Linked DNA regions of Homo sapiens: all the other regions are linked to region 1. Evidence: promoter capture Hi-C in 16 types of primary human blood cells and fetal thymus (Javierre and others, 2016). All regions are on one chromosome and are shown on one strand. The core of a region is centred on a gene start or on the middle of the fragment in contact, and the rest is flanking DNA. Distances in the headings are between cores, read along the strand shown. Region 1 holds the start of P2RY1 (purinergic receptor P2Y1). Region 2 overlaps MBNL1 (muscleblind like splicing regulator 1). Region 3 has its middle 210 kb from the start of MBNL1-AS1. Region 4 has its middle 240 kb from the start of MBNL1-AS1.

Region 1 (6,079 bases), core at 1,573-4,072:
TAACACTGTGAAAACCCCGTCTCTACTGAAAATACAAAAAAATTAGTCGGGCATGATGGCGGGCGCCTGTAGTCCCACGCCAGGCAGGAGAATGGCATGAACTCGGGATGTGGAGCTTGCAGTGAGCCGAGATTGCGCCACTGCACTCCAGCCTGGGCGACAGAGTGAGACCCCGTCTCAAAAAAAAAAAAAAAAAAATTAACATGGAATGCTTAGGGATGTCACTTAAATATGTAAGAATTTTTTATCATGTCTTTAAGCCATCTATAATTGATGTTCAAATGTGAATAATGATTCTTAGATTTTTTCTTCATTAATAATAGTTGAATGTTTTACAAATAGAAAGTTATAGTAATTACTGAATATATGTAACTTATTCCCACAAGGCAAAATTTTGATTTAAAGCATAACTGAAACATAACTGTGTAGTTAAATATGTTGAATGCAAAAGCAATGCTTACAAAGTTTGTTTATTTATTTATTTATTTATTTATTTATTTTGAGACGGAGTCTCACTCTGTCGCCCAGGCTGGAGTGCAGTGGCTCGATCTCAGCTCACTGCAAGCTCCGCCTTCTGTGTTCACACCATTCTTCTGCCTCAGCCTCCCGAGTAGCTGGGACTACAGGTGCCCGCCACCACACCCGGCTAATTTTTTGTATTTTTAGTACAGAGGGGGTTTCACCGTGTTAGCCAGGATGGTCTCCATCTCCTGACCTCGTGATCTGCCCACCTCGGCCTCCTAAAGTGTTGGGATTACAGGCGTGAGCCACAGCGCCCAGCCCAAAATTTATTTTTTAACATCATTTTTTAAAAAGTCTGTGGTGCACTTAAAACAACTATCCCCCAATTCCTAGTAAGGTGTCAGTTTTCTGCAAGTACTTAATGGTATCTGGACTAAGTGTACATTTCAAAACACTCACATTATGAGTTAATGCATTTGCAACAAACTTCTGAGTGAAGTCAGATATTGCCTAGGTTGCAAATAAAAAATGCAAAGGAGTGAGGACTTAAGACCTATTGAGTACCCCTGGAACCCTTAATGGTTTTCTTTGCTTCCTTTTCTCTCTTAATAGACAATCATCCCACCTAGGACCATACTAATCAAACAATACACAAATGTTTCATGTTAAGGCTCAGAATCATAGACTCATATAATCAGGAGATTGGAAGGAAACACAAAAAGTAAGACTTTTCAAGACAACCTCATTCACACTGTTTACTTGAATTATTTACTCTTGTTTTATTATTAATTTTTATGCTGTTCAATTGACTACAATTCAAAACCCAGTGTATTCATACCATGTGCTAAGATATGCTCCTTCCTATATGTGTTCCTCTAAAGAACCATCTGGATCTTGTGGGGGATATTTTCCTTTGTGGTATCAAAGCCAGGAGCTCGTGGTTTTCCTTTATTTTTTAAGGGAACACTATCATGTAGCATCTGGGACCAGAAAGAAATCTTGATGTTATATATTTTACAGATATTTTCTTTTTGGATTTTTTTTCCTCTAAGAGAAAAGCTTTTGTTAATGTGTCATGTAAAAATACATTAACTAGTAACTTGTCAAGAAGTGCTAGATTCCATTCTTGTGCGGGTCCATTTATATATGTTCCTGAACAGCTAATATTTCATTTAGTTTCCAATTAAACTTGCTCAAATACATTTTTGAAGTGCATTGCTTAAAATTTACATTCAAGGCAAGAAAACGAGTTTGTCAGTAAATGTAGTAATTAAGGAAGTCCCAAGTCTGTATTTTTAAGATACTAGAGGTAATTGTAACTAATCACTTTAACTTAAAGAAATAGAATTGGAAATACCCCCCTCCCCCCGCCACCCCCTACCAAAACCATACCTTAGTCACTTTGGAATTATAACCGTCTTTTACGTCTATCAATATAAATGTATTGCATTTGGCATTCAAATTACTTTCAAAGGGATAAATTTCGAATTTTTTTTTTTCATTGTAGCTTCTGATCTTTAAATGTACTGAACAGGAGGATTTGGGGAGCTTGTCTTGTCTGATAGGTGTTAAGTATCTATGACGACAAATTTGAGCTGAAGCAATGTGCAATATGGACTAGTAATATCTTCACAAGACTATTTTGGAAATTCTCACGTTGATGTTATTAATGACGTGGGTTTATTAGCATTTGGGTAATTAAGAAAAAACAGTACTAGAATTTAAAAAAAAGAAAAAAAAAGGTAAGAAGGGCGAAACAGAGTTCTCCACTCCTCTCCCAACCCTCATTCCTTTGGAGGCTCGCGCCCTCTTGGAATAGCAGGTTCCTGCATGTGCCAGAAATCCGGTCCCGGCAAAGCTAGACGCTCTGCAATGACAGGCGTTCCCAGCTAGGGACTCCTGGCTGCTTGGAGCTTGAAAACACCTGGCGTGGTTCTCGAGGGCCCTAGAGGCTCCTGCTACGGACTGGTCGGCTCTGGGGTTGTAGGCAGAAGGCTCTAAGCGGTCGGAAGGGTTTCCTGTGTGTCAGCAACTTCACTTTGCCGAGATAGCTGGCGGAAGAGGGAAGGAGCGCTCGCGGGCCAATCGCCTGCCAGCAGCCACCTTGGAGCGCACCCCTCTCCCTCGCCGCCGACTCCGGTAGCAGCGTGCCGGCAGAGGCTGAACACACTCGGCCTCGGCGGAGACCTGCTCCCCAGAAGACGCCTCCTGCTTCCCACTGCGCCCTGGAGGACGCGGGCTGGCTGCTGGGCGAGCTCGGCGGAGGCACGCCCCTCGCCTCCCCGCGGAGTGCGGACTCGCCCCGGTGCCCAAACTCCGCCCACCCTCTAGGGAGCTCCGCTCTCCCGCCTAACCCCGGCACTCCGGACAGAGCTGGGCCTGGGGAAGGGGTTCCTGAACTACGCGGACGCCGAACGGGACGCGCTGCAGAAGCGCACGAGTCTGCGGCCACGCGCGCTCCGATGGCTGCCAGGAGCTGAGCTCAGGGTGGGCGGAGGAAGCGGTTAGACGCCCCGAAACTGAGCTGCACGTTTCTAAGGTAGGGAGGAGGAAGATGCCCCCAATTAAGTTGATCTTTGAGCCAAGGAGGCTGGGGAGCAGCCTCCCCAAGCTAGAGCCCTGCAGAGCGAGTTTCCCTTGACCTCGCTGCGCCTCTGGCGCGCTCTGCAGCGCGGACCCGCGGCCCCTCGGGAAAGCGCAGTCGGAAAGTTATCCGCGGCGGTTCCCTGCGCGCCCTGTTGTGTAAGCTCGGCGTTGCCAGCGGACGGAGAAGTTGCTGGCTTGCCCGATAGCCCAGTTCGGTGGCGGCCCGGGGCGGATTTCATGGCCCGCGGCGAACGCGGGGCCAGAGCTGGCGTGGGCGAGCCCCTGCGCGCCCCCTCCCGCGGGGATCCAGTTCGCCTGCTCCCTTCCGCTCGCTGGCTTTTCCGATGCTTGCTGCGCCCCTGGCCGCCGCTGCCCTCTCGCCGCCTCCTACCCCTCGGAGCCGCCGCCTAAGTCGAGGAGGAGAGAATGACCGAGGTGCTGTGGCCGGCTGTCCCCAACGGGACGGACGCTGCCTTCCTGGCCGGTCCGGGTTCGTCCTGGGGGAACAGCACGGTCGCCTCCACTGCCGCCGTCTCCTCGTCGTTCAAATGCGCCTTGACCAAGACGGGCTTCCAGTTTTACTACCTGCCGGCTGTCTACATCTTGGTATTCATCATCGGCTTCCTGGGCAACAGCGTGGCCATCTGGATGTTCGTCTTCCACATGAAGCCCTGGAGCGGCATCTCCGTGTACATGTTCAATTTGGCTCTGGCCGACTTCTTGTACGTGCTGACTCTGCCAGCCCTGATCTTCTACTACTTCAATAAAACAGACTGGATCTTCGGGGATGCCATGTGTAAACTGCAGAGGTTCATCTTTCATGTGAACCTCTATGGCAGCATCTTGTTTCTGACATGCATCAGTGCCCACCGGTACAGCGGTGTGGTGTACCCCCTCAAGTCCCTGGGCCGGCTCAAAAAGAAGAATGCGATCTGTATCAGCGTGCTGGTGTGGCTCATTGTGGTGGTGGCGATCTCCCCCATCCTCTTCTACTCAGGTACCGGGGTCCGCAAAAACAAAACCATCACCTGTTACGACACCACCTCAGACGAGTACCTGCGAAGTTATTTCATCTACAGCATGTGCACGACCGTGGCCATGTTCTGTGTCCCCTTGGTGCTGATTCTGGGCTGTTACGGATTAATTGTGAGAGCTTTGATTTACAAAGATCTGGACAACTCTCCTCTGAGGAGAAAATCGATTTACCTGGTAATCATTGTACTGACTGTTTTTGCTGTGTCTTACATCCCTTTCCATGTGATGAAAACGATGAACTTGAGGGCCCGGCTTGATTTTCAGACCCCAGCAATGTGTGCTTTCAATGACAGGGTTTATGCCACGTATCAGGTGACAAGAGGTCTAGCAAGTCTCAACAGTTGTGTGGACCCCATTCTCTATTTCTTGGCGGGAGATACTTTCAGAAGGAGACTCTCCCGAGCCACAAGGAAAGCTTCTAGAAGAAGTGAGGCAAATTTGCAATCCAAGAGTGAAGACATGACCCTCAATATTTTACCTGAGTTCAAGCAGAATGGAGATACAAGCCTGTGAAGGCACAAGAATCTCCAAACACCTCTCTGTTGTAATATGGTAGGATGCTTAACAGAATCAAGTACTTTTCCCCTCTTTAACTTTCTAGTTTAGAAAAAAATCAAACCAAGAAAATAGTGAGTTAAAAAAATAATAGAAGTAGAAATGCCCACATCCACACTTAGCTTGTTTGGGTTTGCTTTCACAGTCTCTCTTCCTTCTGACTAGAAGTATGTATAATAAAACAATACTACCTAGTTAAACATTTACTTTCTCTTTTGCCTTTAAAATGTGCAGGCTTTTCTGTTTAAAGTGTGTGTGCACATGAGTACTGGGGCTGTTTTTGATATTAGTAATTTCTCTAAGAAAACTAGCCCCCTGCAACTTGAGTTTGTGGTTTATCTAGCCTTTATTGTTTTTTTAAAATCCACAGTAGGAATAAAAAATCTATATTCTCAGAAATATCTAGCATGGTATATAACAAAACACTAAACTCATCAGTTCATCCGGCATCAGATCAATGGATCTCTGAGCGGGGTGTTTTTTTCAGTGTCTTATAAGCATAGATGATAGTTGACTGAGTTTCTTTAGGGCATTGAATAGACAAGTAAAGCTAATGAATTTAAAAGCCTGAAAAGTGATTGTTTTCCAGTTATTTCTGGAAAAGGTCTCATTATATATTGGGTGCTAAATGTTTGATGGGGAAAGCCTGCATATATTATCGTACTGGTAAAATGCATTCAAAATAATTAAAGTGCATGTATTTTCCTTGTAAACACCATGAGCTCTCTTAGACATCTTGTGATAAAGAGCATTTACTTGCCCCACTGCTGTGCAATGCCTTAGGACTTTGTTTGTGTTCCAGGACAAGTGTTCACTCACATCTGTAAAAACAATTTTAAGAATTGCAAATAAATTACAGACCAAAGATTGAGTAAAGTCAAATAACTGTTAGTAAGTTGAAGGATATTGGACAGGAGGACAGTATTTCAGAAAAGGAGAGGTTGACAGTCATCCACAAGGCATAGCCTCCAAGTATACTCTCAAATGTATGAAGCAACTGGGGTGGGCAGAAGACATTTTAGAATGAGGGCTTTAGTTTAAATTAAAGTCATGGTGGAGAAGACTCTTGCTTCCTCCAAGTGTTTGAAAACACAAAATGCGATATGAAAAGAAGAAATAGAATTTGTATAGGTTGCATTGATAGAATGGGAAGCTATAATCTTTGAATAAACCTTACATCTCAATATTTAAAGAAAAAACATATATATGGAGGGAAATATAGAGAATTAAAGTACCTAGATGCCATAGCACTGAAAAGTAAAGTACTACTCAAACTACTAATAGAAGACTATTGGTCAGTGTTTTCTATTATATTTGTTCTCTGCCAGGTGTTAATGAAAAATTTGTAAAATGCTTCAACAGTGTTAATAATTTTAATGAATATTGAATTGCTGCATGTCTAGTCCTTGAAATGGTCAAATTCTATATAATGAGAATAACA
Region 2 (6,079 bases), core at 1,072-3,571, 370 kb before region 1:
GGAGTTTTGTTAAGGCTAATACAATGACAGACTGAGCAAAATTGCTTGCAAAAGTGGCACAGAGTTAGCACTCCATACCCCTTCAAACATGTTGCTTTGCTTTCTTGTGGACAGCTTGTAGTTTGCCAGGATTTTTTCAGCTGGAAAGATACGCCATCCTTTCAAACCCTCATGACTGACAAAAACTCCATGGGGCCAAATCTGCCTGAAGATCATTACCAAAAATAGCAGGTACTTCTACCATTAAGGTGAAATCATGGATCAGATATTCCTTACATTTTTCAAAACTACTGCATGTTTAAAACTTCAACAAAAAAAGAGAGAAAGAACTATACTAAGAACATATATTATTCAGATCAGTTTCTGCCAATTTCAGTGGTTTATTGTTCACAAAAAAATCTTCAAAACAAGTATTGACTTTCACAAAATTTAAATCATAAACAGGCAAACCAAACAGCACACTGTAGCTATAGTTGTTATGTGATTGTTTTTTAATTGCTGTAGGATCCTGTTCTTTCAGCAGGTGAAAAATAAAACGCAGTTCAAATTTCATGGTTTTAATTTTCAACTCAGAAGCACTCAAAAATGCAAAATGTGATAATGGGCACTTGTTTAAAAGAATTAGTGTATCCAGCCTTCACTCCAGCTGGTTAAAAATGTTGCACTTATCAGCAACCCTACCACTTTCATCTGCTGAAAGGACAAATGTGCTTGGTTTTACTATTATGTAATCACAACTTACTTTCTGCTTGTAGTTGCTTAAAATTATGTATTTTGTCTTGGGCTGCAATTTGTTTTATGCTTATTTTATTATTACTGCAGTAGTTGACTTTGCTGTATGGAAAAATAAAGTGAAATTGCCCTAATAAAACTTCTCTTTCTTAAGTATATTCGTGTATCTGAGATTGAATACTAAATTATTTTTGCGTGTTTCATGTATTCATGCATATGTATCTATCTTTACAAACATATTGATGTATAAATTTGTTACCTGGTTTTAACTGATTGCAACTGCGAGGAAGGCATTTGTTGTCTTTCTCACTAATTATCCTTTGACACTGAGAGGGAGAATCTAAATCAGCATATATTGCCCTCCTGTGCCCAATGTTTTCTGAAATTCTTGCCTTCCCCTGTCTGACACTTTAAGCGCTGATTGAAATAGTTTTAAGTGTCAGGGCAAAAAACGGTAAGAAAAAAATTATTATACATTATAGATCACTATCTATCTTTTATTAAAGAAATCTTATTTGCCTGACTGCTGCGTCAGCTGATTAGGACTGGAAATCAGGCAATCCAAGAGAGGTGATGGCACTGTATTCAGAGGGATGAAAGAAATTATGCATATGATCTATGAGGCAGGCCATGATATTACTCCTGAGGGGTGTGTGTGTGTGTGTGTGTGTGAATGTCTTAAACGGTGGGTTAAAAACTTTGTTGAAGTGGGGCCTGGCATCACATATAAGCTTTGCAGTTTCTACAGATAGCCAGTGAATGCCAAAGTTTCAACATGAAGAACGTGCACATTGTATCATTTAGTTCTACTTTATGCTGACTGCCACTTGGTATTTGGTCAAGAGTTACAAATGCTCATTTGTAGGTTGATGCCTTTTTTTCTAAAATTTATTGTGATAAAAATAGGTGCATTATTCATAATCAATACAGTTCTGTTACTGGTTGAGTTCTAAAGGACAATTCTGTTATTTTCAGTAGGTCCAACTGTTCTGGGTGCCACTTGTCAAAAAGAATGGCTGCCCTGAAGATGATTGTCTAAAGCAGGAGTTCACAGCCTTTTTTGAGTAATATCAAGACATCTGGCTCTTTCCAGTTAGTGATATTTTGGAAATCTTTTCATTGAAAAAATGCATAACTAAAAGTCCTTGTAACTTTTGCAATACTTTAAATGAAACTGTATTTTGTTAATCACAACAGCATATACATGCATCTGAAAAATTATTTTCAGAAGAGTTATTATTACAACGCCCACTAGGAGTCCTCAGCTCACAGAATGGGACTCTGTTAGAAGTCATTCGTTTTTCATTTGGAGAACAAAATCGTTTGCTAGAGCTATTACTTCATCACATACCCTTGGTACTCATGGAATTTAAACTTTGAAATGATACTAAAGGTCAGTGATGTAGCAATCTATTATTTCACTGAGACATACTTTTGAATGCCTGTATGAATGCTTTCATACAGGAAGTAGTCACTAAAGCACTGGGGAGACATTGCAGTGGTCGAGGAACGGCTCAAAAATCAGAACACCTGGAATCACGTCGCAGCTCCCTGACCTTGGCAAATTACTTCTCTGACTCAGTTTCCACTTTAATAAAATAAGTACGAGAATATAAATACTGCACCATTATTGAGTGGTTTCCAGACTTTGCTGCAAACTGGAATTGTCGGGGGGATTTTTTTTTTTTTTTTTTTTTTTTTTTTTTTTGAGACAGTCTTGCTCTGTGGCCCCGGCTGGAGTGCAGTGGCGCGATCTTGGCTCACTCCAAGTTCCGCCTCCCAGGTTCACGCCATTCTCCCGCCTCAGCCTCCCGAGTAGCTGGGACTACAGGCGCCTGCCACCACGCCCGGCTAATTTTTTGTATTTTTAGTAGAGATGGGGTTTCGATACTTTTAAAATAAAACTCAATAAAAGTATCGATACTTTTAAAAGATCCCCCAGATAACTGGTTCCTACCTGCACACATTCTGGTTTAATGACTATGGAGGAAAGAACTGGGTTAATATATAAAAAGAGCTTAGAAAGTTGCTTGGTTTATAGCAAGTAATTGATACATGTTAACTATGATTGCTATTTTATCAATTTTAAAAATCACTCCACTTATTCTTCAACTTTTTATCCTGATTCTTCGATTACACATCCCTTTCAAAGTAGCCAGGTACACACACTCTCTCATTTATATTATCTGTAATTTTATCTTTCATGTTTAGCAATGAAACTATCTTGTAATTTACCACCACCACAAGACCTGCTGTTACTTCATTTATACTATTTCAAAAACAGAATCAAGTACATTTTTATTAACTCTGAAAATTTTGTATAATTCTTATTTCAATTTGATATGGTCAATCTGAAAATTTTGTATAGTTCTTACTTCAATTTGATATGGTCACAGACAACACCTAGCCCATTTAGACCCAATATGAAAGTAACCATTTAGGCATATCTAAGCTTAACTCTTTGAATCCCCCTTCAAATATTTTAACTGTGTTCAAGATCAAGTAATAGAATGAATGCATTATGAAAATGATACCATTAAATAATGTATTTTAAATATTTTTATTGTATTTATCAAAATAATACTTCTAGTAACATTTCAGTGACACTAGTATATTTCCATAACATGTTTCATCATAGGTTTATTTTGAATGCTTAAATTAGTACTATTTCAACTTAAACATATTAGAATCTGGTTATATACTGTACAGGATGCTAGGCTCTGAGATACAAGGATCAATGGCAAGAACCTTACAGTGTAATGACTAAAACAAAATATGTAGAGTATGTAATTCCATCTGTATAGACACTCATCTAGTATTTCCCTCCTCCCTCACTAGTCCGAATCTCTTTATACCACAAAATAATTTAGAATAAAATTAAATAAAAACTACATTCTCTTCTGGAATACAATGATACAACTCCCCTACTTACTGTCTAACTCACTTTATCCTTAAAAATTAACTTGAATATTGAAAAAATATTTTTGAATAAACATGTTCATTGCAGCATTTTTATAATGGCAAAATCCTGGTCTCAATACTTAGGAAATGTTTCAATACTTAGGAAATAAGTAAAGTATCATACAGTGTTATATATTTATAAAGCATTTTTTCAAAAATGAGTTAATCACATAGGAAAGTAATTTTAGTGGTAAGATAATAGGAGACTTTAATTGGCTTTTCAGAGATTTCTAGTTTAGTAAATATTCATTGTTTTTTAAATTTATTTTTTTTAAAATCTGAATTATTTACTTTTTTCTTAGACCATTTCCCTATTTAGTTGAGTCAGTTTGTCATCTTCAGAATCTTAAAATGTCCTACAAAACTTCCACTTTACCTATCACTGTTAGTTGAGAAATTATAGAAGACATCTTGCCAAATCAGTAAAATATGTATGCTGTTTTAGTAAAATATGTGTTGTTTTAGTGAAAAATAGCAAAAGGATATGAATAAAACTCCTTTTAACTTTTTTTTAAATTGTTCTTTTTTTTTTGAGACAGGGTCTTCCTCTATTGTCCAGGCTGGAGTGCGGTGGCATAAACATGGCTAATTGCAGTCTCAACCTTCTGGGCTTAAGCAATCCTCCCAGCTCAGCCTCCCAAGTAGCTGGGACTACAGGCATGCACCACTACACCCAGAGAATTTTTTAATTTTTTCGTAGAGATGGGGGTCTTCCTATTTCCCCAGGTGGGTCTTGAACTCCTGGGCTCAAGCAATCCACCTTGGCCTCTCAATTTAATTTAATTTAATCAATTAAATCATCTTTTTGTTTTAGGAGTATCTCATCACCTTCCCGACTCTTTAAAAGATGCTGAGTCACCAGAATTGGTTAATATCTACTATAATTTTATCAAAAAAAGATAACTGTGTGCAAAATACCTTAGGAGGATTTGCTAACAGGGTAACTATAATAATGTGGGAGATGAGAGCAAGGTGTGCTCGAAGAAGGTGACATTTGAGCAGAGACCTTGTTAAAGTAAAGGTGGCATAACATTACCTCGGTGGCATACACTCTCCAGCCATCTTTGCTATTGGATACTGACTCATCCTTCTTGCCAAATTAAATGCCACTGCATCAAGAAGTATTATTTTCCCTCCTGACACTATGAAGCATTATTATTTGCTTTATTTTTTTCATGATGTATTGCTTTTAACTGTATTTCAGTACTCATTTTGTTCTGATATTTCAAATTTGTTTACAGTTTGGAATTGTTCCAAAGACAGGTACATTCTTGCTAGGAGGAACCAGTCTTACTCATGTCTGTGAAGCACCTAGAGCCTAGCATCTAGTTTTTATTTAGTAGGAACTGGCTGATTGTATACATTAATATTTATTAAATCTGTCTTCTAGCCTTCATGGAAAATGCAGATGAGGAACATTCTATGACACTCTACTTTTCAGATTGTAAAAACAATGCAGACACAGTATCTAGAAAGGTTGATTGACTCAATACCTTCCATTCTTTGAAAATTAGTCTGGAAAAGTGAACTGGTATTTTCCAGCCCACACTGACCCTAAACCCCAAAAGCCCAAACTATACCACCAAATACAGTATTTTAGAATGTGTTTAATTAAAACTTCCCTCGCTTGAATACAAAGATGTGATTACCTAACTCGCTGTCTATGGAGAGAAGGATGTGTGGGAAGGAATATTCTGGTATGAGTGGTATACGTTATGAACATTTTCTTATAAAGCATCTGTGGTGAAAGAGAACATACCTTTACGTTCTCTCTGCATCCCTTAAAATATTTCTAATTCTGAACTTATGAATCTCTTGCCTTGCATTCAAATGCCTTTCCTTACCATCTGCTGAACTGTTTTTATTTATGTTTTGGTTTCTTTCCCTTGGCACCTCACACCTGTGCTAATTAGCAACAACAGCAGAGCATAGGAGGAACATAGGCCATCCACCTGTGAACAAATTGTAAGAACTGCAGTGGACATTGATTCGTACAGAATATATACTTACAGTTGAATGCTTTTTAACATATCTATCTTGCTTTAATTAGTTGTGTGTATTTTTCTTTCATCCTGTTCCCTTTATATTATTTCATAGGGCTCGAAGCTCTGATCTCTATTTAGGCTATCTCATCTCCCAGGAGAACCTTCATTATGAAAATGTGTATCGAACAGTTACTTCATTTGATAAGGGGGTCTGAGAAACCACCATATTCTCCTACAATTTCCCACTTGTTCACAGCTAATTAACAATCGCTGAGTTAGACATGAATTTAAAAATTCATAGTTAATGAGATTTAAAAACTTTAAGGAGACTTTATTGGAAAGTGACTTAAATCCATATTAGTTTATTTCCTTCTTCCCTCCTTTCATCCCTTTTCCACCCT
Region 3 (6,079 bases), core at 2,014-4,513, 350 kb before region 1:
AGATATTTTGTGTGTGTGTGTAACTATTTTAAGTGGCATTGCATTCTTGATTTGACTCTCAGCTTGGACATTATTAGTGTGTAGAAATGCTACTGACTTTTGTACATTGATTTTGTATCCTGAAACCTTGCTAAAATCGTTTATCAGTTATAATAGCCTTTTGGCAGAGCCCCTAGAGTTTTCTAAGTTTAGAATCATATCATCAGTGAAGAGAGAGGGTTTGACTTCCCCTTTTCCTACTTGGATGCCTTTTGTATCTCTTGTTCAATTTCTCTGGCTAGGATTTCCAGTATTATGTTCAATAGGAGGAATGAGAATGGGCATCCTTATCTTGTTTTGGTTCTCAAGGGGAATACCTCCAGCTTTTGCCCATTCAGTATGATGTTGGCTGTGGGTCTGTGATAGATGGCTTTTATTATTCTAAGGTACGTTCATTCAGTGCTGAGTTTTTAACATGAAGGCATGCTGAATTTTATTAAAAGCCTTTTCTGCACCTATTTAGATATTCATGTGGTTTTTTAGTTCTATTTATGTGGTGAATAACATTTATTGCTTTGCCTATGTTGAATCAACCTTGAATCCCAGGAATGAATTCACTTGATCATAGTGAATTAACTCTTTGGTGTGCTGCTGAATTCAATTTGCTAGTATTTTCCTGAGGATTTTTGTGTCTATATTCATCAGGGATATTGGCCTGTAGTTTTCTTTTTTCACTGTGTCTTTTCCAGGTTTTGGTTTCAGGGTAATGCTGGCTTCATAGAATGAGCTAGGGAAGAGTCCCTCCTCCTCAATGTTTTGGAATAGTTTTCGTAGAATTAGTATCAGATTTTCTTTGTATGTCTGGTAGAATTCCACTGTGACTCCATCTGGTCTAGGGATTTTTGTTGGTGGTTGTGGTGGTAGGTTTTTATTTTTTTAATTACTGTCAATTTTGGAACTTGATATTGCTCTGTTCAGTGTTCCAATTTCTTCCTGATTTAATCTTGGGAGATTGTGTGTTTCCAAGAGTTTATCCATTTCCTCTAGATTTTCTAGTTTGTGTGCATAGAGGTGTTCATAATAGTCTATCAGGATCTCTTTTCTTCTTCCTAATCCTCTCACACTGATCTGAGGATCTTTTGTATTTCTGTGGGGTCAGTTGTAATGTCACTTTTGCCATTTTTGATTGTGCCTATTTGGATATGCTCTCTTTTTTGCTTTGTTAACCTAGCTCTATTGATCTTGTTTATCCTTCCAAAGAACCAACTTTTAGTTTCCTTGATTCTTTGTATTTGATTCTTTGTATTTGTATTATTTGATTTTGGGGTCTCAATTTCATCAGTTCCACTCTGATTTTAGTTATTTCTTTTTTTCTGCTAGCTTTGGGGTTAGTTTGTTCTTGTTTTTCTGATTCCTCTAGGTATGATGTTAGATCATTAATTTGAGATCTTTCTAACTTTTTGAGGTAGGCATCTAGAGCTATAAACTTTTAACACTGCTTTTGCTACATCCCAAATATTTTGGTATGTTGTGTCTCTATTTTTATTTATTCCAATTTTTTTTTAAATTTCTGCCTTGATTTTATTGTTTACCCAAAAGTCATTCAGGAGCAAGTTGATTAATTTCCATGTAAATGTGTGGTTTTGAGAGATCTTCTTAGTATTGATTTCTATTTTTATTCCACTGCAGTCTGAGAGAATGGTTGGCATGATTTCAATTTTTTAAATTTATTGAGGCTTGGTTTATGGCTGAACATGTAGTCAATTTTGGAATATGTTCCATGTGCAGATGAGAAAAATGTATATTCTGTGATTGATGGGTGGAGTATTCTGTAGATGTCTTTTAGGTCCAATTGGTCAAGTACCAAGTTTAAGTCTAAAATTTCTTTGTTAGTTTTCTGCCTTAATGATCTGTCTAATACTTTCAGTGGGGTGTTGAAGTCCCTAACTGTTGTTATGTGGCTAAGTCTTTTCATAGGTCTAGAAGTACTTGTTTTATGAATCTGGTTTCCCAAATGTTGGGTGCATAGGTATTTAGTATAATTAAGTCTTCTTGCTGAATTGAGCCCTTTATCATTATGTAATGCTATTTTTTGTCTTTTTTTTTTCACTGTTTTTGATTTAAAGTCTCTTGTATCTGACATAAGAATAGCAACCATTGTTCTTTTTTGTTTACTGTTTGCATGGTAGATCTTTCTCTAACCCTTAGAGCCAGTGGGTGTCATTATGTGTGAGATGGGTCTCTTGAAGACAGCAGATAGATGGATTGCATTTTTTTATCCAACTTGCCACTCTGTGCCTTCTAAGTGAAGCATTTGGGCCATTTATATTCAAGGTTAATATTGATATGTGAGGTTTTGATCCTATCATGAAGTTCTTAGCTGGTTGCTTTGTACTTTCTATTAGGTAGTTGCTTTATAGAGTCAGTGGGCTATGTACTTAAGTGTTTTTGTGGTAGCAGGTATTGATCTTTTGTTTCCATGTTTAGAGTTTCCTTAAGGATCTCTTGTAAGTCTGGTCTAGTGGTAACAAATTCCCTTAGCACTTGCTTGTCTGGCAAATATTTTATTTCTCCTTCACTTATGAAGCTTAGTTTGGTGTGATAAAATGAAATTCTTTGTTGAAATTTATTTTAAGAATGCTGAAAATAGGCCCCTGATCTCTCTTGGCTTGCAAGGTTTCTGCTAAGAAATGTGCTCTTAACTTGATGAGGTTCCTTTTGTACATAATCTGCCCTTTTTTTCTAGCTGCCTTTAAATTTTTTTTTCTTTAGCACTTACCTTGGACAATCTAGTGACTATATGCCTTGGTGTTGATTATTTTGTATGATATCTCACAGATGTTCCCTAGATTTCTTGTATCTAAATATCTACCTCTCTAGCAAGATTAAAGAAGTTTTCTTGAATTATTCCTTCAAATATATTTTCCAGGTTGTTTACTTTTTCTCCTCTCTCAGAAATGCCAATAACTCACAGATTTGGTTGCTTTATGTAATCCCATAATTCTTGAAGACTTTTTTTCTTAAAAATCTTTTTTCTTTATTTTTGATTTTTGTCTGACTTAGTTCAAAAGATTGATGTTCTAACTCTGAAATTTTCTTCTGCTTGGTGTAATCTGTTGATAAGGCTGTCGATGGTATTTTGAAATTCCTTAAGTGAGGGTTTTTTTTTTTTTTTTGAGATAGAGTCTCGCTTTTTTGCCCAGGCTGGAGTGCAGTGGTGCGATCTCGGCTCACTGCAAGCTCTGCCTCCCGGGTTCACGCCATTCTCCTGCCTCAGCCTCCCGAGTAGCTGGGACTACAGATGCCCGCCACCATGCCCAACTAATTTTTTTGTATTTTTAGTAGAGACAGGGTTTCACTGTGTTAGCCAGGACGGTCTTGATCTCCTGACCTCGTGATCCACCTGCCTCGGCCTTCCAAAGTGCTGGGATTACAGGCATGAGCCACCACTCCTGGCCTTAACTGAGTTTTTTAATTCCAGAAGTTCTGATTCATTTTTTTAAAGATGTTTATTCCTTCCTTCATTTCCTGGATTGCTTTAGAAGTTTCTTTGTATTAATTTTCAACCTGATCTTGAATGTCATTGAGCTTCCTTGCAATCTATGCTTTGAATTCTTTATCTGTCATTTCTGAGTTTCCATTTTGGTTAGGAACCATTGCTAGAGAGCTAGAGCAATCCTTTGATCGTGTCACCACATTCTTATTCTTCATGGTGCCAGAATTCTTATGCTCTTTCTTTCCCATCTGGAGATGCTGGTACTTCTAATTTTTGTAATTGTTTTTGTGTGGGTAAGATTTTTTCTTTTTTGTTCTTCCTCTATAATGTTATTATTATATTATTTTTATCTTTCCTTTTCCCTTTTTCCCCATCCCTAGGGGTTGTGACTGTAGAGAAAGCTGGGTAGGGTATTATAGCTTTGCTTCCATAGCCCTATACACTTCTTTTAGCAGGTTTTATATTGCATTGTGGAGTACAATCTACAAGCTTGCAGATGGCACTTACAGGTAAGAGCTGGTGCTGGCCAGTTTGGCTGTGTAAATACTTGATCCTTGTTTAGTGGCAGAAACTCTCTGTTGCTTCAGGCAATAAGATGATTTGTGAAATGTATGGTTGTCTAATCTCCCTACTCAGCCCTGGGGAGGGGGGTACAAGGGGCAGACCTGGACTGGGAAGGTCCATGTACAGATCGTCCAATGTCAGGCATAGACACAAGTGCCAAGGGAGAATCCCATGAGAAGCCACCAAGTGCCTAGAGGCGTGCCTAGATGCGGAGCTAGGAAACCACCTTGGCTCTAAGTTCTCTGCACAGAGAGGTCAGGGATGCCGTAAACTACCAATCCAGAAGAGTGAGTCCTCCATATGCCTGGAGATCTGCCTGAGCATGCAGCAGAGAGAAGACCCCTGCACCAAGATCTCTGGACAGGAGGGCTGGGGTAACTCAGGCTGCTGAACTAGGCAAGCAGGTGCTCTGAATACCTGGAAATCTCCTTGAGCATGTAGCAGAGAGGACCCCACTGCACTAGGAACTCTGCACAGTAAAGATGGGGTGGCTCAGTCTGCTGGTCTAGCTGAGCTGGTGCTCAGAATGCCTGGAGATCTGCCTGGACATGGAGTAGAGAAAACCCCACTGCAACATGGAAATCATTTTTTTTAATTCTCACAACTAACTTACTGAGATAGGTATTTTTATCTCTATGAGGGAAACGAAAAAACTCAGGAACAGAGAGAACAAGTACCTTGCTAAATACACCAATAATAATTAAGCAATACTTCAAAATAGGTATTTCTGACTCTAGAGTTCTTAAGAATATCTTGAATTCTCAAGGCAAATATCATTGGTCTTGATCAATTTTAAATTGTGGTTCACCTGATTTATAACTGATCTGTTTTATTTTTATATAAATTTGATCACAATGGCTTAAAGCCATATAAACATTTGAAGAGATTATGCAGCTGGATTAGTCATTAAGCATTAATTTGGGTTAAAGGATATATATATATATAATATATATATAAAAGTACCAAATATATTAATACCAAATAATATAAATTAATACCAAGATAGGTATACCCTGATTTTATATATATAATAGATATACCCTGATTATATATATATAATAGATATGCCCTGATTTTATATATTATATAATATTATATAATATATAAAATCAGGGCATATCTATTTTGGTATTAATTTCTCTTCTTCTAAGGAAAGTAAATGAAATGTTTAATTATAAAGACGCATTGATTCATTTGTATCCCTGAGCACATTTTACAAGAAACCAATTCTAGTCATTTTAGTCATATCAATTGAAAAATTACTTATAAAGAGTGATAAAGAAGAAAAATATTATCATAAATATATAATATTTTATATTCAAGGTAATATTTTTTGTCTTTTATATTTAATGAGTCCAAAACTGATCTTTATAACTCTTTTCCTATTAAATCACCACCTACTATTGTAGTAAATTTGAATAGGGCAGATTCATCTTAATCTTGAAAATTTTTTAGTTCCTATTAAGCTCCTTCGTTATGAAAAATACTCACTTGGATTCTCTGAGAGGCTGATGAGCTGTTTCTAAAACCATATCTCCTCGAATCTGAGGGTGGAGTCACCTTGAAATTTATATTTGAATTATCCAAATTATTTATAATTTAAGACAAAGCTCAAGCAAGTGAATTTATTAGATTGTCCTCTTCAGTGAGAATCTTGTTTGGAGTTGGATTACGGAAGGAAGCAGCACAGTACCTAACTTCCAAACCTATCACTCTTGGTAAATGCTCAGCTATGAAACCATTACAAGTGAGGATCAGAGGCTTAATGCTTACAAATAAATTTATTCATGATGCCAAGTATTATAGCTAAAGTAATTTACCTCTCAGTACTACATTTCATTAGGAAAAATTAGATGTAAATATATATCTTAGCAGAAAAAAATATAAATATATATCTCACTGGAACAAACAGAAATGGTCATGCTTTTATTCTGAAGTATATTGTGAGTGAAAAAAGCCTAGAGGAAAAGAAAAAAATCTGAATACTTTCTGTGAGAACTCCACTTTATGAGTTTTATATGAATGATAAAATTTAATTGA
Region 4 (6,079 bases), core at 2,638-5,137, 320 kb before region 1:
TGACTTAAGAACACTCTTTTACAAGTACATCACAGTTTTATTATTCTACTTAATTCTTTTCCTTTATTCCTTAGAGGTGCTCCTAGAAAAACTCCCTAATAGATCTCTGACACTCAAGTTTCCATCTCAGAACCTGTTGTTCAGGGAACTCAACTTAAGCCAAAAATATTCTACAAAAGTGAATATTCATAAATAAAATGTTATAAGTTACAAATGTAACAGGAATACTAGTGATTAATTGAATTTGGTATTACTTGCATTATTTATTGTAGCTATCCAAGAACACTGGTTAGAGTATTCAATGAGACTACATCCTGTTTAGAATTATTTTACCTAATGTACACTAATCCAGGCAGAATCAGTCTCATGGCAAATATAGATTTCATTTGCCCTGTATTCTGTTTAAAGCTTAATTAATGATTCATCCATAGACTATCATGCTTAAACAACATCTTATCAAAATTTATATTGAACAAAACAGAAAAAAATTAACGAAATAACACTTCAATTGCAAATATACCTCAAAACAACATGCTAGATTCATCATTTTTATAATGTAAAAATTTCACAAAAGACACTAAGATCAAACTCTCAAAGCTTTTGTTCAGAATATCATCTGTCAATCAAATGCTTCCTTTATGAACACGTTGCTTTTCATTCCAAAAAATTGACATTTCTATGGTTAAGATTATCCTCTCATTTAAAAATCTCTCCCCCAAGTTCCTGTGTCTTTCAGTATTATTTTTTAAAATACGAATAAATGGTCTTTTGATGGATTCAGTTTGTTCACTTGACTACTTACAAACCAGCAAACTTTAAGATAATGTTTCTCCTTTTTTAATTCTTAAAACATTTAAACCTGCTGACTGCATTTTCTTAACTTTCGTTATATATTTACTAACATTGATTTAAGTTGTTTTAGAAACATGGGAAGAAAAACATGACCAATAAATAAGACATATACCTGAAACCCCATTACTTCATTGCTTTCAAAAAACAATACCTTTGACTACAGAAACATCTGTTTATCAGCTGCCTAGAAGTTGCCGACCCTCATTTATTTTGTTCCTTTAGAATTTCAACCTTCAATTTCTTTCATTTTGTTGATAAAGTAAAACTGTATCTTAAAAGAGAAACTAGGCAATGTTATTTTATTTAGATTATTTTAAAGTGAAGTACTCTGTTTTCAAATTATATTTCATGAAAAGAAAATGGAAGATTGTTTTTCTAATCTTAGTTTTAATGACTGAGGTGATCTTTAGTGTATTGGAGATAAATTTCAAGTTTAAACTGTCTGGCTGAAAGTTCATTGTAGAGGGTTTTTGAGGTTTTCTTTGCAAAGAACCCAAATGAAAAAAATATGACACGGATTAAAAATAATTTAGCAGATCTATGATATTATGCATCTCTTAAATGGTCTTACAAGTGATTACATAAGCTAGGTTCTTTTTTGTTTTTATTTAAATTGTAAAATAGGAAAAGTTTATAAGTTTCTTTATTCTAATCTATTCAGTGGCCTAGAATGGTTCCATAAGGCCAGTAAAACTGTAATCAGTGGGCTGAGCAGAGATTTATTTTTAAAGGAGAGGACTTTTAAAGGGATGTGTTCATGACAGGCCTTTAGCTCCACTATGCGATCATTAAGTATGCATTGTATGTCTACTAGTGTTCATGATGGCAAACTGAAGGTTAAGTTCAAAGACCTTGGGGTTAAACAATGCTGACTGAGTTCAGGCTCTACTATTTAGGACTGTGACCATAGCTGTGATCAAGTTTCTATTTCCTCATCTGAGAAATAAGGATAACGACCATGCTAAACTCTTAGGTTTACTGTGAAGTTGAAGTGAAAGTACACATATCACACGCCTAACACAGTGCCTGGTGTAGAGTAAGGACTCGGCAAACTTGACCAATTAGTTATTCTCTGTCTCAGGCTCAAGATAAGACATTGTGTAAAGGCACAGAAAAACAAGAAGACTCAACCCTGAACCCCATGGAGCTTTCTCCCACCCGTCAGACGTTTCCTCCCTGTGAATAGGCATCAGAAAAGCAACAGCTCTCGCTTTTACAAAGTAGTTAATTCATACAAACCTGGAATTTTCAAACAAATTTTGATCAACAACAACAAAGCCAATTACTTAAATCCTTGTGTATATATGATTTTTCAATGTACTGCTTTAGAATTCTCACATTCAGGCTGGGTGTAGTAGCTTAAACCTGTAATCCCAACACTTTGGGAGGCCGAGGTGGGAAGATAACTTGAGGCTGAGAGTTTGAGACCAGATTGCTCAATATAGTGAGACCCTGTCCCTACTATATATATATATACACACACACACATTTTATATATATATATATATCCTGGTATGGTGGCATGTGCCTGTTGTCTCAGCTACTAGGGAGGCTAAGGTGGGAGGATCCCTTGAGCCAAGGAGGTTGAGGCTGCAATAATCCATGACTGCACCACTGCACTCCAGCTTGGGTGACAGGGTGAGACCCTGTTTTCAGAAAACAAACAAACCAAACAAGAATTCTCACAGTTTAAAGAGGAAGAAATGCAAAGGAGAAAACCCATAAGTAAATCAGAATTATTTTCCCTTTATCATACACAATGAATAACTAACTGAAGAAAAGATTGTCTTTAAAAACATGTCATGGTAGAGTGAAAAAAAGGGATATATATTTTAGAATATATGTCTACAGCTTCCTCTGGAATTCCAACTTTGCTCAGGATACTTTTGTTACTGCTATAAAATAGAAAGGTACCAGCCTGGCCAACACAGTGAAACCCCGTCTCTACTAAAAATACAAAAAAATTAGCTGGGCGTGGGGGCGGGCACCTGTAATCCCAGCTACTCAGGAGGTTGAGGCAGGAGAATTGCTTCAATCTGGGAGGCAGAGGTTGCAGTGAGCCAAGATCATGCCATTGCACTCCAGCCTGGGTGACAGAGCTAGATTCAGTCTCAAAAAATAATAATAAAATAAAATAAAATAAAATAAAATAAAATAAAATAAAATAAAATAAAATAAAATAAAATAGAAAGGCAGTCCTGAGTGAAGGTGACGACATCAAGACTGATTTGGTGAAGGTTGTTAGGTGACAATAATTATTAATAGCTCCATTTTGTGGACTAAAAAAACTAAACCAAACAAAAACCAAAAAAACCCCTCAATTTTAATTTTAGATCTCAAAAAAGATGAACCATAGCATGAACTGTTAGACAAGGCAAAATAATTCAAAAGGGGCCTTCTTGGTATTTCAGAAAAGAGGAATTGAGATTTTTTTCAAAAGTTAAATTTAAGAAAAAGCCTGATTATAATAAAAGCTGCTTTTCTTAAGAGATACCATTCAGAATTGATTACCTTCTTTCACACGATACAACATTAGATATGATTAGATATGATTGACAAGCATGCCAAAGGCTTCATTCTTCTAGCTGATTATCAACTTTTCTTCCTGGGAGCCAATTTCAATGAGCTGTTATATTTTGAAGTGCTGTCACAGATTTATTGGAAGGAACTAGAAATGTTAGTTCCTTATGTCTGCAATTCCAGTAGGAATTCCATGTCTGAGTATTTTAAGTTTAATAATATAATTTTAAAGAAATTTTTAGAACTGTATGGAGAAATGGAGCAGAATTACCACAAATAAATATTTATAGGAAAGCTATAGAACATCAGAACAGTGCTTCCTATAGTCAATCATATTTAACTGCCTGTTATTGTGAATTGATATATGTTGTTGCAAACAGTGAACTGAATACTAGACTAGCACATAAAAGTCAAATGAAATAGAGTTGTTAATACTTTTTTGAGCAGAAATCGAGTAAGTACTCCTTGTAGCATGAAAGGATACATCTAACTCTTAGAAAATCTATTTTCTGCTGAAGGGAAGGTGTGACCATTTATACAGTTAAAGTTAATCAGGCTGGGTGCAGTGGCTCACGCTTCTAATTCTAGCACTTTGGGAGGCTGAGGTGCGTGGATTGCTTGAGCCCAGGGGTTCAAGACCAGCCTGGGCAACATGGTGAAATCCTGTCTCTACAAAAAATACAAAAAAATTAGCTGGGTATGGTGGTGTGCACCTGTAGCCCCAGCTACTCCAGAGGCTGGGTTGAGAGGATCACTTGAGCCTGGGAGGGCAAGGTGGAAGTGAGCTGTGACCGCCCCACTGTGCTCCAGACTGAGCAACAGAGCAAGACCCTGTCTTAAAAAATAAAGAATAAAGTTAATTAATCCTTCATGGGACAAATGAGTCTATAAAAATATCACAAACTAAGGATGTCTAACCTGCATAGAATGTCACTATCTTTCTAGAAGTAACACTTGAAAATTACTTAGGATGGTGTCTGGCACATGGTAGATGCTCAATAAATGTTAACTGTATCATCATTTAGAAATGGTATTAGGGGCTGGGTGTGTTGGCTTACGCCTGTAATCTCAGCACTTTGGGAGGCTGAGGCCCTTGAGTTCAAGAGTTTCAAGAGTTTGACACCAGCCTGGCCAACATGGTGAAACCCTGTCTCTACCAAAAATACAAAAATTTAGCTAGTTATGGTGGTGGGTGCCTGTAGTCCCAGCTACTCGGGTGACTGAGGCATGGAATCGCTTGAACCCAGAGGTGGAGATTGCAGTGAGCCAAGATCATGCCATTGCACTCCAGCCTGAGCAACAGAGAGAGACTCCATCTTAAAAATAAAAAAAAAAAGAAAGAAAGAAAGAAAAAGAAAGAAAGAAATAGTATTTAGTTGGAAGTTAGAAAGATCTAAAAATAAGTGGCTTAAAAATACATTAACTTTTTGCTTATGTACCATGGAGTCCAGAAGCAGGCTGTTCAAGTTTGGTAGTATATTGACTACTTTGGCTATATTATATTATCAAACTCTCAGAACACTTCTGTTAAAGTTTACATCCTCAGAACCACCTCATGCTCACAAGACGGCTGCCCGGAGTCTATTTTTCATATACAAGTGCAAAGAAGGAAGAGAAAAGAAAGGTGGTTCTGCAAAGGGATGAATGCCAGCTGGATACACACACACGTGCACACGCGCACACACACACACACACACACACACACACAGAGAGAAAGGTTTCTAGAACCCTACCCAACAACTTTTGCCCAAATATCATTAACCTAAACTCAGTCACATGCCTTCCTTTTTCTTTAAGATGGAAATATTGTATTTTAGCTGAATGCATTGCTAAACATAATGAAATCAAATTTCTGTTGTTAAGAAATAAGGGAAAATTATACATTGGTGTTATGTGGGAAATTTACAGAAAAGAATTACATAGGGGAAAATTGGATTTGGGGAGGGAATTAGAAATCTTTCCCATTGTTATTAATGAGATTATGTTTATTTGGAAGTTTACGAATAAACTAATCCTTTTTCAGGTGTTTGCTTCTCTGTGGGACTAAAATATTTTCCTTTCAGCAATGTGCTGGAGAAGCCAGCTTATACCTACTTGCAGGAACCAATTGAGAAATTCTTAAGAATTTTGTAAGTCAGTAATGAAACACAGCCATTATTTTAAAAATAAATACTATAAATATGGAATTAAATTATGTTAGAAACAAAGGATAGTAAATACTTAGAACAGCTCACTTCCTAATTTTTTTCTACAATTTACTGTTATCTGTGCTGTTGGCATGATGTACATCTATTGTATCTGTATAGTGAAAATATTATGTGATAGAAACCTGTATAATGGTATCTACTGTACCTCTCTTCCCAACTCTGAATTCAGTAACATCACTTTGGTATCTTAAAACTGGCCATATAGGGAATATTTACATCACAGAAGTTGACAAACACTAAAATGAGGGCCCTTTTCCCTGAAGAATAGGTTGTAAAAATCTACCAGCATGCTTCTGCCTTCTAATATTTACAAATACATTTTTAATAGTTTGCTGTATTAATGGTGGCCAGTATAGAGATCAGAGTAGAGATAAATTTAATGTTTCACTAGCATAACCACATACAGAAGGTTAACCAGTGAGTACATTAAGAGGGAAGGAACTGTTTTTCTTCTATTCATGTCTTGCAACAGCTCTCATGGGACCACCAACACCACCAGC

What was found. The method cuts DNA at HindIII sites, captures the fragments that hold promoters and counts their contacts. A CHiCAGO score of 5 or more calls a contact.
Region 2: a contact is called between a fragment that was not itself captured here and the fragment with the promoter of P2RY1 in region 1, in 1 of 17 cell types (megakaryocytes). The highest score is 8.8, in megakaryocytes.
Region 3: a fragment that was not itself captured here is called in contact with the fragment with the promoter of P2RY1 in region 1 in 2 of 17 cell types (megakaryocytes and M2 macrophages); the score reaches 6.0 in megakaryocytes.
Region 4: a fragment that was not itself captured here is called in contact with the fragment with the promoter of P2RY1 in region 1 in 1 of 17 cell types (megakaryocytes); the score reaches 6.3 in megakaryocytes.

Annotation. Positions count from the first base shown.
Region 1 is chr3:152,832,309-152,838,387 of GRCh38, forward strand. P2RY1 (purinergic receptor P2Y1) reads left to right here and starts at 2,823. Exons shown (of 1, transcript NM_002563.5): 1 at 2,823-6,079. The coding sequence starts at 3,475. The coding sequence ends at 4,596. RefSeq lists silencers at 2,730-2,779, 3,492-3,786 and an enhancer at 2,960-3,059. The HindIII fragment of the contact is 2,977 bases long and covers 1,520-4,496 here.
Region 2 is chr3:152,464,893-152,470,971 of GRCh38, forward strand. It overlaps MBNL1 (muscleblind like splicing regulator 1), which reads left to right. Exons shown (of 10, transcript NM_021038.5): 10 at 1-888. Among named protein-coding and RNA genes, the nearest start is that of MBNL1-AS1, 200 kb to the left of the region's middle. The HindIII fragment of the contact is 1,721 bases long and covers 1,462-3,182 here.
Region 3 is chr3:152,480,374-152,486,452 of GRCh38, forward strand. No RefSeq gene overlaps it. Among named protein-coding and RNA genes, the nearest start is that of MBNL1-AS1, 210 kb to the left of the region's middle. RefSeq lists a silencer at 4,028-4,233. The HindIII fragment of the contact is 1,398 bases long and covers 2,565-3,962 here.
Region 4 is chr3:152,510,317-152,516,395 of GRCh38, forward strand. No RefSeq gene overlaps it. Among named protein-coding and RNA genes, the nearest start is that of MBNL1-AS1, 240 kb to the left of the region's middle. The HindIII fragment of the contact is 6,585 bases long and covers 596-6,079 here.